Regions from separate parts of the Homo sapiens genome. Here region 1 is linked to region 2. Evidence: promoter capture Hi-C in human tissues and cell types (Jung and others, 2019). All regions are on one chromosome and are shown on one strand. The core of a region is centred on a gene start or on the middle of the fragment in contact, and the rest is flanking DNA. Distances in the headings are between cores, read along the strand shown. Region 1 overlaps LOC101929710 (a long non-coding RNA gene). Region 2 holds the start of RFESD (Rieske Fe-S domain containing).

Region 1 (6,542 bases), core at 1,786-4,285, 800 kb before region 2:
CATTCAAACATTCAATTTGTTCTGTTCTGAAAAGGCAGAAAGCAGCAGAAACATTATAGTTCAAAGAATTCATGTAAAGCTATAACAGTCAATAGGGGGCACGGAAACTGTTTCCATTGCAGCTAGCACAGTGCCTAGTACTTGATAAAAGCGCGATATACATTTGTTGAGTGAATGAATGAATGAATGAATGAATGAAATATAGCAAGTTGCTTTTTGGATAGCTGACAGGATGGTCTTCAAATGCCAGAGCAAAACATTTGGTCACTTGCTTTCACTTATCCTTTAAATCTAGCATCACAAACACTTAGCCTCAAAACCTCAAGGGACATAATTAGAAATATTTTATGCATAGATTTCCTGTTCCATTTGGAGTCAAACCTAAGGCTTTAAGATTTATAGCCCCCAGACATGTTAATACGCTTTCTGGAATTCACCTAGGATAGCAATGAGCAGTAGCTTTCAAAATGCCTTTCTTTGTAAGGGCATTTCAGTTGCATAAAAATATTCCAGACAGATGCCCTGAGCTGATTCTTGTCCCTCATCTCTGCACAGCCAGAATGGCCCTGGTTTTATCTTTTTTTTTTTTTTAACATATGAGAGTTCCATCCAGAATGATGTCTCCAGCACTCAAAATGTTTGAAAATCACTGATGTAGGACAGAGCTGTTCTAGCAGGGCAGGTTTTTACTTCTTGTTTTATGTTTTCCATAAAGATCAGAGCGGACATGGGGTTTCAACACACAGTGGACAGCATTAGAGCCAATTTAATTAGAATGTCACTGACAGGGCACCTCAGCTGATATCACATATATTAAAAATATATGTGATATATTTTACACACACACAACTCCCACATGCTTGAGTAGGCATCCAAGGGGTAACATATACTTTACTTTCCTATAAATAAATGTAATTTTTATTGTAACTCATATTTCCTTCTAAAATCAGAAGCTTTGACCAAGTGTTCCCAAGTAAACCCAGTCAAATTATTCCTCAGTCATTTTCATTTTAAACTCAGGCAATTTTAAGGTTCTGCCCTTGTCTATTTTCTGCCCGTGAGTAACATTTAAATTCCACAGAGGGCTCATGCAGGCACGTGTGTGGATGTGTGTGAGTGTGTGGATGGGTGTGTATGTGGATGAGTGTGTGTGCACACTTGTGTGTGCTGGGTATATGTAGTCGGTGGCTATTCTGTGCCTTCTGCTGGCATCAGCTGCTATTTAACTTCCTAGTCTCTGGAAATTGGTCCTTATGCCCATGACTTCTGCCACTGCCTGAGGTCCTAACATGGGTTTAAGCTTCCTCAAGTCCACTGGTGCTCTCTCAGCCACATCCAAGGCCCCTAGGGCCTGCATGCTTTCAGCTGTCACTGTATCACTTGCAAGTCTGAGAGAAACTCAAAGCTGTGTCTCATGGCTTCTTACGCCTGGGCTCATTTTGCTTAATTCCTCCTTTGCCACCATGCTGTGCAGCACCTATCCAAGAGTGCTGCCACACTGAATTCTCCGATGGGAGCCAGGCATTCATGCCCTCTCCAGGTCCGTAATTTAACCAACATGCACCAGAATGATCATTTGGATTAATTGGGCATCTCTTCTAATTGGCCAGTGCTTGTGATTTTCTGTTTGTTGAGTACTTAGGATCCTACCTTTCCTCCCAAATCCCCCAAACGACAGGAAGCTCAGTAACCCTCTTTCTTCTCTAGATGTTGGTCTGATGAGGACAGAAACTGAGGTGGCATGCTCATATTCCACAGATGCTTTTTCTTCAAGGTAACTCTTTTTTTCTAGCCCAGGCAACATTTATCCAGTCTCTAGGATACGGCAGCCTGACTCTTCATCTATTCTCTTTCCATTCCATTGCTTATGGCACAAACCTTATGCCTGACTTCCTTTGGGCTGGGCTTCTTGCTGCTCAAAAGAAACTGGATCTTGAATATCAATGACCTTGACTTTATAGATTTCCATCTCCACAGTGAGATTTAAATTTTATTTTTAGAGATGCAAAAGCTGAGCACCGACTGCTTATTTTCCTTTTGTGTTCTTGGTTTAAAACCCTGCATCCTCTCTGAAGCAATTCCTGCTGCTGACTGAGTAGGAAAGGAGCTTGGGGAACCCTGGTTAATATCTCAAAATTTCATCCTGCCACAAACATATGAGTGATGGGGCTGTCCAGTCCCTCCTTTCTGCAAACACAGAAAAAAGCCCCAAAATTACAGAGACACAATTGGCCATGATATCCCTTAAAGCCATGTTAATGGTAGAGCGGTTTGCAATGTAATACATGGTTATGAAAAAATAGTTCTTGTACCACAATAAAGTCAAGTTATATTAACAATAAGAATATAGGATTCTTATGTAGACCAAATGAGGGGTTGTCTCAGAAAGGTAATCTACGGAGTTCTGTGATTTTTTTTTTTTTTTTGTACACTAAAAATTATTTTGGAGCTGTGCATGGTGGCTGATGCCTGTAATCGCAGCACTTTAAAGAGAGTCACTATATCATTTGGAAGTCTGAGCTTGAGCTGAGGAGTTTGAGAACAGCCTGGGTAACATAGGGAGACTCCGTCTCTACAAAAAATAAACAAAATTAGCCAGGAGTGGTGGCACATGCCTATGATCCCAGCTACTCAGCAGGCTGAAGTGTGAGGATTGCTTGAGTCCTGGAGGTCGAGGCTGCAGTGAGCCCAGATCTGCCACTGCACTCCAGCCTGGGTGCCAGAGTAAGACCCTGCCTCAAAAGAAAAAGATTATTTTGCAGTTCTAAGTAGAACACTTCACCTCCATTACCCCCGGGTTTACCCAGATTCACACGTACCATGGGATGGACATTGGGCTTCTTTTTGTTCAGAACCCAGCATCAAAAACAGCAGAAAAAAGAATGCCAGTGATCTGCAGAAAATGCACAAGACTGAGGAAATTTACAGGACAAGACCTGACTGGGAACTTAAGAATTCCAGAGTGAGCCGTGGCATGCTCCCAAAATAGAAGAGTGGAACACTGGGAGAAGAGAAAAGATTTTTTAAAATCTATGAAGAAACTGTATGAAGAGGAAAAGAGAGGTAAAGTTAGAAAAACAGGAACCATTTCAGATGACTGCCCATGGAGGTCTAGAATACATTCAAAAGGGAACCATTATGTGTCTGGGCAATGAGTCCAGTTCTTTTCTGCAGAGCAAGAAGATAAAGTTGCTACATAAAGCCTTTCTTTTTCTTTCTTTCATAGCTCACTACTGCCTTGAACTCCTGGCCTTAATGCCATCCTCCCACCTCAGCCTGCGTAGTAGCTGGGACCACAGGTACACACCACCATGGTGTGTGTACCTCAGAAGCAATCTTCCCCAGCTTCTCTCATCACTTTTTATTGCCAGAAAACCATCCCTTTGTCACCCAGCAAAGAGACTGAAGGTGTTTTCCCCAGAGACACCAGGCACAGTTAAGTGTGGAGGCTTCACACTGAAACACGGAACTAAGTGAGGCACAGTGAGTGCAGTCCTCAGGGTTCTTGTCCTTTTCCTCTGGTGGCTGGCCCTTTTTGCTGAAGATTGCAGGTCAGGGAGTCTTCTCTCTGGAATCCAACTAACCCAAGAGGAAAGACTTAAAGACTCTGGCATTGAGGTTTTCTCAACTCTTCTATCTGGCCAGGCCATCCTGCAGCAAAACTCACAGTTGCCAGTTCCCATTTAAATGATTACGGATTTTCTTTTCTCGCTCTCAACTGTGATCTAGCAACATGGATAACTGGAAATTGGAGGAATGTCTTTACCATGAGAAAAGGGACTGAACCATAGGGGAAAAAACACCATAGTGGTCACCTTATTTTTGCAGGAAAAAAAGCAAAAAATAAAAAAATAAATAAAACAAAACAAGCAAACAAATAAAACCCCCTAGCATTAATATTCTCAGACATGAGAAGATATTATAACCATGAGAGAAGAACAGGAAGAAATTAAAAGGAACATTTATAAAATAAAACTGATATTTTAGAAATTAACAATATGATGGAGAAAATAATTCTAGTTGAGAAAAAATTTTCAGAAATTTTGGCATAAAGAAAAAAGTAAATAAGATAAAGAATAATTTTTATCTGTTATAGACAATGATTTGGTGGTAATATTTGAAGGAAAGAGGATATTTAAAATTACAGAAACCAGCAGATTGTACAGCTTGAGATAAAATGAGAGAATAATTCAATTTATACAGTTCTTTAAACATCAAAACATAGAAAACAGTAAAACTTTAAGTGTCAGAACATCAAGGCAGGTAGCAAGTTCTCAAACACTAAATTAAATGAGTCTTACTTCCATCACCAATACAGTGAAAAATCTGTTACATGAGGCTTATTAGCAAGTCATGATCTCAATGCCCCTATTTTTGATGAGAAGTGAAGGCATAACCTAGACTCACAGACTAGTGCAAAGAATGCCCCTTTATGTGAGTCAGTCCAGTTAGTCTTTACAAGCTCCATAAGGGGCAAGGTGGGGTGGACTCTCAATCCCTGTGGCTGCTTCTGTGACACCTCTGATTCAACCAAAAGAAATTGTTGACCAAACTTAATTTGCTTTTTCCTTCATTTCTTATATTGCTGTGATTCATTTGGAATGCCCTTGAGGTTCTATGTGTTATTAGATGCTGGAAAAATTTTGACAAGATCAAGTATACCCTAGCAACATGAAATAGAGAATTGAGATAGTTAAGAAGAAATGCTAGATTAATATTTCACTTTCCCTAAAATATGCATGTAGTTGAGACTAAAGTATTCTTAAAATTCTCTGCTTCGTTTTACTTCTAGGGTTAATCTCTGTCCGTGACTTGCAGAAGGATATAGAGCGTAGGCAATTGTTAAATAAATTTGATTCATGTATATCAATGATGCCCAATAGAATCACCTGGTGTGACCCATGCCACACCAATTAAATCACAATCTGTGGGCTTAGGGCCAGGGCATCAGTGTTGTTTTCAAGATACTAAGTGCAGCAATAATCGATAACCACTGATAAAGTTACTTCAATGCCTATTTATACTTTTTAAATTCGGTGATTACAAAACATATACTTTCTTTGAAGCTATACAGATATAGTATCCAAATTGGTGATCACAATTGATTAGTTTAAGTAGCTTCAAAATTGGCATGTGGCTTTCTTGACTAGGTTCCCAGAATCTAGATGTAATAGGTTGGGTGTTGGGGCAGGATGTAGAAACTGTTAACATTGTTCTTGGAGTGCCTGGCTGGCTTGAAGCAAAAGATTGATATACATAAATTTTATTGGATTGTAAGAATAATGATCCTGCGTCTAGTTATGCATCTTCATAGGAAAGGTTTTAAAATGTACTTTCAGGGCATTATATTTGAATCCAGCATTAATAAGCTCTGGAAACAAGAATGGGCTATTTTACTCTTGGTGAGAGGGCCAGAGCCTTACAGATGTATGCATGAGCAAAGGATCACCTGAACCTAATGATTATCTTCCTAATTGGCTCCTGGGAAGTTATGTATAAACATATTTTCATTGAGTCATTACTCTGTTTTTTTCCCCCAAGTTCAGTGGCATTTTCTCTGAAGAGATAATAATAGAGCTACCCTAACAGTGGAAAATAACCTCCAGTAGTCTATTAGAAATGGTTACAAAAAGAAGAAGGAGAAAAAAGAAAAGAATGAGAAGAAATGGAGGGGAAGACAAAGAGAATGAAGAGAATGACGGTGATGACAATAATAAAGAAGGAAGAAGAGGAAGTGGAGAAAAAGAAGCAGGAGGTAGATCAGGAGGAAGAAGAGGAGAAAAAGAAAGTGAAGCAGCAGCAACAGCAGCAGCAGTGGTAGGGTAAATGCCAATGCCAGTTAAGGCTTTTCACAGCGCTCCTTACGACCTCCAAGGGTACCTGTAGAAGTTTGTAGATTCCTGGGCCTCAGGCCATTCCAGAATCAGAATGGGAGGAGCGATGCTTAGGAAGCTGCACTTTAAACTACCTTGATACTTAATCCACGTAAGTATTATGCATAGTAAACCATCTGAAAATGATTGTCCTACAATACGTTGGGCATTAATGCCAGGGATACTGTCCATTTAACTCACGTAGTTTCCAAGTTCCTAGTCTTACCAAAGCAACAAATGGTAATAACATTTTAGGATAACATAAACCTAGAAACATAGGGCTTCTGAGTGTAATCTAAAATCATGGACAGTTCTCTTCAATGCAAAGCAAAGAAAATGGCAGAAGACAGACCAATCATAATGACAGCTAGATTTTATTGAGTACTTACTATGGGCTAAGCAATGTTCTCAGTGCTTTACATAATTTAGTCCATTCAAATCTCATAAATAGTATTATTTCCTCTGTTTCATGAGGAAGCTGAAGATTCAGGAGCTATTCCAGGTAACAGTGCTGGTAAGGGGTAGAGAGGACTCAAATACTTACCTGCTTAAAATATTAAACATCAAACTATTCCACATAAGTGGAAGGTAGAAGAAGCACTACAGACCTGAGTTCTGGTGTTAGCTCTGTGAGATTATCTATGCAAACTCTGTTAGCCTTGCTTACCT
Region 2 (6,827 bases), core at 4,027-6,526:
GAAAACTCGAGGTTCTTAGGAAACTGTCCTGAAACTTTGGTTGTTCTATAAAGAGTTGTGCCTACCCTGTACCCTTTTCTCTTTGTAAGTTCACTTACTCCCTATACATCCACCCTCCTAGAAATCAAATACTGATTAGTATCCAAGTAAGAGCTTATATTCAGAATATAACCATTACTACTCTCTTTTCCCTGTATTTCTAAAGTTTGTCTCCTATTCCACTCTTTAATATCCTTTTGGCCAAATATAGAAATTAAAAGGTGGGAAAAAAATCAAGACTAAGAAATATCTCAATATTATTTTTAGGAACAGGCTTAAGGATTATAGGTTTGATCCTGCCCTTGAATCAAAATAATGACTCAGGCCAGTGGCTCACACCTGTAATCCCAGCACTTTGGGAGGCCTGGGTGGGAAAATCAATTGCCAAGAATTCAAGACCAGCCTAGGCAACATACTGAGACCCAGCTCTACATAAAAATGTTTTTAAAAAATTACCCAGGTGGGTTGGTACTTGCCTGTAGGGTTGGCTGCCTGGGAGGCTGAGGGAGGAGGATCACTTGAGCCCAGGAGTTTGAGGCTTCAGTGAGCTATGATCATACCACTGTACTCCAGCCTGGGCAACAGAGTGAGACCCTGTCTCTAAAAATATTTTTTTAAAAAAAGTTTGCTGTGGAATGCTCAAGATATTAAACACACACTTGTCTACAAATATTTAACAAAATTACAAATCAGTTGTCAACTTCAAATAAATATTCTAACTTTAGGAAGATATTTCATCATCCACACCTTCTTCAAATATAGTAATACTGTAGCATTTCACAGGAGTTAAGCAACATGATAATGTACCTTTCCTTGATCAAAAGGAATCTGCATTGTAATTCCACTCAAGTCTTAGGTTACCATTTTACATAAAAACACATATATCCCACTTCTTTTTTTTTTTTTTTTTTTTTTTGAGACGGAGTCTCACTCTGTAGCCCAGGCTGGAGTGCAGTGGCTCCATCTGGGCTCACTGCAAGCTCCACCTCCTGGGTTCATGTCATTCTCCTGCCTCAGCTTCCCAAGTAGCTGGGACTACAGGCGCCCGCCACCACACCCGGATAATTTTTTGTATTTTTAGTAGAGATGGGGTTTCACCATGTTAGCCAGAATGGTCTCGATCTCCTGACCTCATGATCCGCCCGCCTCGGCCTCCCAATGTGCTGGGATTACAGGCGTGAGCCACCATGCCCGGCCCTATCCAACTTCTTTAAAGAAGGCATTTGTACCTCGGTGTACCTAGCTTAGAATGGTTACACACTATGGGCCAGTCGCTTCCCCAAAAAAGGGAAATTGTTTTCATGGAAGTGCCAAGTGACTTTAGGACTTCTGCAGATAATTTTCCTGATGGCTTCTCTAAATATTTATTTAATCCCATATAACTGATTGGAAGTTTTAAAATGTTAGCAGAAAAAGAGCATGGTTCATTTAAAAAGTAAGTTTATAAAACAAAAATTATTAAGAGTAAAATCTCTGTTAGTGTGTTAGGAGTGAGCTTTAGAAAAAGAGAATTTATAGGTCACTATTTTGAGATAAATAGTTCTGAGCCATGTGGAAGACAGATATCAGATATCATTGTAAGGCTGGGCTCCAAAATTGAGGTGTAGGTAGAGAGATATGTGTGTTCATGTTTGTGCATGTGTGCATGTGTGTTGATGGGGAGAGACAGGGGCTTTGAATTCAATGTATAAAAGAAGGCATTACACACATCAAACTTAGAAAATTATAGGGATGTCAAATTTGTACTCTGAAGTTTGCATTTTTAATTCTGCTCTAATTTTTTTTTAAAGGGGGGGATAGAAAAGTAATACATATGCTGTTTTTAAAAATTATCTCACAATAAAAAAGCAAAAGTTTATTATTTTAAAGCAAAGGCAAAGAGGACCATGGCCATGATTTTCTGGGTTAGCTATGGCTGATAGGAGGCAAGAATACTATCTCTGAATGGTCATCTGGTTTTATTTGATTTTGGCAGGTACTCAAAGAACACAAATTGATCAGGTGGTAGTATTTGCCTTCAGAGTTGGGCATGCAGCCTTCATCACATTTTGTGACAGAACAGAGGGGTAATAAGAAAAATGGGAACAGACAAAGGAATGAACTGAAATAAGGGGAAATAGGCTAAAGAAAAAGAAAAGAAAGAAATGTGGAATTTGCAATACATATAACTGACAAACTCTTGAGATTCAGAATATGTGAAGAACTCCTATAGGCCAGTAAAAAAAGAACAAATAATCATAGAAAAATGGGCAAGACATGAACAAACATTTCACAAATAAAGAAATCTGAATGGCCAGTATATGTAAAGACACTCAATCTCATTAGTAGGAAAACGCAAAGGAAATGCAAAGCAAGGCCATTAATGTGATACTATTTTCTATCCACCAGGCTGACAAAAAATTATACCAAGTATTAGTGAAAATATGGAACTGCTAGTGATAACATAAATTAGTGCTACCACAATTTGGCATTACCTAGTAAAGTTAAACATAATAATAATCCCACTTTGGGTATATGCCACAGAAATGCACACAGGTACACCAGGAAACATACACAAGAATAGTTATAACAGCAAAAAACAAAAACAACACAAAACCCATCAACAGTAGAATGGAAAATGTGTATGTTCATTCAATGGAATGCTGTACAGCAGTGAAAAATGTATCTCTACATCAAGTTGGCTTAATTTCAAAAAACATAATTGCAAGTGAAAAATTTAAAAAGGAATTCAGAGTATGTTTCCGTTTTTATCACAAAAGTGGCAAAACCAAACAGTATATTATTCATGGATATATGTACTATAGGGTAAATATATCAAGAAAAGCAAGGGGATAATAAACATTTCTTAAATGTCTAAAAGTATTTACTTTTTTCTTATAATTAAAATTATTCTTTTCAAGATTTAAGTTGTATCCTAATGTATATTTATGTAGCAAATGACCCCAAACCCAAGAAAAATGGAACAAAATTGCCCTTTCTATCCTCAGAGAATGTGCCTGTGCATAGGTCATGAATTAACTATTTGAGAATTTTGTACAGCTAATTTCAAAACTTGGCACCAAAGGAGGAAATAAATGAATAGTTGTTTTCCTCCAGGCCAAAAAAAAAAAAAAAAAAAAAAGCACTACTATCAAAAAGTAACGAAATACAAGAGATGTAGTATAATATCAAAAGTTAATTATGTTTTCCCAACTCCCAAATAAATGAGAACCAAATACAGGTCTTTCTCAAATTTGAGTCACTACAAACTTACAGTTTTTGCAAGGTTTGCCTCCAACCCGACAAACTGGTGAACTTTTACGGGACTGATAAAAAAGGAGCAGAGAAGACTGGGGCTAAATGATAAAGGTTTCAGAGAACTATGATTATGGCTGTGCATTTTGCTTAGAAAAGTATAATTTTATATGTCAAATAATAGTTTCCTCTATGTATCTTAAATGGTACTATTTATACTATTTGAGGACTTTTTACATTTAACACCCATATTATTCTTACTATTGTGAATATCATGATCCATTCACACAATAGGGAAAGCCCACGTGTTCACCTTAATTATCGTTATTTTGATGAACTATTCATAAACTCCCAATATGTTTCGATTTTAAGTCTACTTTAAGATAATAGAATCTTAACTGAATGAAACAGAAAATTAAACAACTCATACAGTTTGACGGCTAGTTGAAAACATCCCCCTGAAAAACTTAGTCGTTGTGTTTCATGTTCTCTTCGAGAAAAATTTTTGGCCTGTCCCTAAAATTGGTTTCTAAAGGTGCTAACTCCATATAAAATTACAAATTAGCTAAATGGATACTCGGTCACTATTAGATTCCTTTCCAACAAAGGAAATAAATTCAAGTGGAATTTAAAAAAATATTTAGTGTAACTCAAATTTCCACAAGACACGGGAGATAAAAGAAACATGAAGTGAAACGTACTTACTTGTCACTCGTCTTGAACCATGACTAAGATGCTTTTACCAAGTGTGGAAACTTTGCCTACACATTATCAGAATGCTTATCTCAAGTATGACACCCTTGCTTTTACATGCAGGGAAGAGAAATGCCTTAGAGAGTAGTTTTGGTATCTCTCTGAATGGCAGAATAATAACAGATAAAACTAGCTGTCCTTTAGTAAATGCCTACTGCTTGGACCCTTTGAATATAATAGTTCATTAGTCTTCACAAAACCGCCAACGGGTAGGCATTAGTTTTATTCAGGTAGCACCCACGTTTTTATAAAAACATGAGGCTTGCAAGTAAACTATCCTGAAGACACAGAAACCTTTTAGCAAAGCAAATATGTATATTGGTGATATATATAGTATTGATATTTATATTTGTCACCAAAGATGGTCCTGAATTAAAAAAAAAAAGGAACGCTAATGTGCAACAGCTATGTTCACGAATGTTTACAATTGAACGCTTGCCCAATAATTTTATATAAAGTCACAGAGCTGCTCTGGAAATCAGCACCATCGTATGATGTTGAATTGTGATCACGAGTGAGCTAGACCTGGGTTTGCATCCCAGTTCTGCGTGATTTGGGGCAAGTTGCTTAACTTCGCTGTGCTGCAGTTTCTTTTACTTTAAGAAGGGCCCGCCACATAGGGGTGTGGGTAAAGCACATAAATGCTTTAACACATGTCAAATGTTTAGAGCAGGCCTAACCGCAGAAAACGCTCACAGCGCGTTAGCTGGCACCTCTAAGGTCCATCCAGCTCTGGCAGTTATCCTGCCTAACTTCAAGTTGTGTTTAACATTTCGGTAAAGACCGCCTGCAGTTCTGAGACTGCACGTGGCTGTCCAGGTGCTGCAAATTCTCGACACAGACTCCAGGAGGCGAGTATCTCCAGGACGGCCGGGGCTGCGGAAGCCCTGGAGCAGCTTCTATACTTTAGAGCTTTCATGGCACAAATGCCATGAAAGCTTGTTAAAAACGACCCGCGTACCCCCCTTAGGTGGCAGGTCTCAGGTGTGGCCCAAGTTTCAAGGTGAACAAGCTCGGTGAGTCTCCTGTGCCTGGGCGGAAGCCCGCCTTGGCGGGTTAACCGTTAACTAACGCTGAACCAAAACCCAAGAGGGCCTCAGGCCCCGCAGCGGCGCGGCCACAGCCGGAATGAGGAGTCCACGCCCGCAGCCCAGCCGGAAGCAGCTGGTCCCGCCAGCCCGCCCCCTGCGCGGCGAGAACAGAACTTACTGTCCCCGAGTCCTCGCTCCGCCTCCGCGTGACGCTACTGCACGAGCCAGAGCTCCAGACGTGCGCGGCGCCTCGACGGGGGCGGGGCGAGGCCGTCCACGTGACCCAAGAAGGCCCGCCCCCGGGACCGCCTCTATGGCATTGCCGGCAGATGACCCTGGTTGATAGAGATCTCTGGCCAACAGCGCCGCGCCAGCACCTTCAAACTGGCAGGCATACTCGTGTACTTGACAAATGTGGATAGCATCAGTTTACTTTTTAGTTGTTTGTTGATCTCATTACATTTATTCAAATTTTAGATGCGCCCAGCGACTTCATTCAGTTATTTACCCTATAAAAATATTTGCAGAAGGTCGTCGCGATGCTGGTAACCCATGTATAAGGATGTTAAGGCCGGGCGCGGTGGTTCACGCCTGTAATCCCAGTACTTTGGGAGGCCGAGGCGGGCGAATCACCTGAGGTCGGGAGTTTGAGACCAGCCTGACCAACATGGAGAAACCCCATCTCTACTAAAAATACAAAATTAGCCGGGCGTGGTGGCCCAGGCCTGTAATCGCAGGTACTCAGGAGGCTGAGGCAGGAGAATCGCTTTGAATCCAGGAGGCAGAGGTTGCGGTGAGCCGAGATCGCGCCGTTGCACTCCAGCCTGGACAACACGAGCGAAACTCCATCTCAAAAAAAAAAAAAATGTTTATTGCTGTGAAGTAGTGAAAATAGCTGAAGTGATAACACGGAGGAATGGTTCAATAAAACACAGCACAACAGTACAGACATGTGAATTACTTCGTAGCTGTGTACTGTATACTCAAAGGACAGGCCCATCATGTAATGAATATTAAAGGCAAAGCGTAGAATACTATATATGGTGTCCTCTCTTTAATGTAAACAATTATTTTTTGAAATACAAACATGCAGGTATGTACATAAACTTTTTCTCGAAAAATCAAAAGAAACAATAGTGGTTGCTTTGGGAGGAGATGGAGAGTTTTCACTTTCATATTATGAACTTTGCAATTTTGCTTTTTTCTCATTGTACTTCCCTGAATTGACAACAACAACAACAAAGAAAACCACCAAAACCCTCATATTTGTGTTCCGAGCTGGGAAACTAGATGAGCCTAAGTTTTTAATTTCCTTGACTACTTTCCAGTGCAGTGATTCTTAACCCTGGCTATGCCTTAGAGTCGCTTGGGAGTTTTGAAAAGTCGTAATGCCCAGTCTGTATGCCAGACCAACAAAATAAAACACAGATTATTTGGGGTGGGAAGGGAGTGGGCAGATTCAATGTATGTTTTTAACTTCCTGAGTGATTCCAGTGTGAACCCAAGGTTGAACACTACAACTTGTATTTAGTATGGTGACATAGTGATCTCAGGCTCTAGGGTGGCCCAATGAACTGGGGCAGCCGAAACCCAGGAACTTTGTCCATTTACCTCAGTGTGCTATATAAATGCCATTTTTTAAATGAGCCTCAACATGTAAGAAGTTGAATAGCTCAGAATAATTTGTTTCCAGTGCTAGTTTCTTCTGTTTTTTTTCTCTTCAATACAGTTTTATGGTGATCAATAATATTTTATTGGGTCATTTCCCTT

Evidence for each region. The method cuts DNA at HindIII sites, captures the fragments that hold promoters and counts their contacts. A contact is called where the count stands out against the background at its distance.
Region 1: a contact is called between a fragment that was not itself captured here and the fragment with the promoter of RFESD in region 2, in 1 of the 25 tissues and cell types used here (lymphoblastoid cells).

What each region holds. Positions count from the first base shown.
Region 1 is chr5:96,442,064-96,448,605 of GRCh38, reverse strand. The region is part of intron 4 of LOC101929710 (a long non-coding RNA gene); the gene reads right to left. It also overlaps a transcript of CAST not described here and the pseudogene LOC102724070. Among named protein-coding and RNA genes, the nearest start is that of PCSK1, 12 kb to the right of the region's middle. The HindIII fragment of the contact is 3,815 bases long and covers 1,128-4,942 here.
Region 2 is chr5:95,645,226-95,652,052 of GRCh38, reverse strand. It overlaps RFESD (Rieske Fe-S domain containing), which reads right to left and starts at 5,276. Exons shown (of 6, transcript NM_001131066.2): 1 at 5,236-5,276. The HindIII fragment of the contact is 8,810 bases long and covers 969-6,827 here.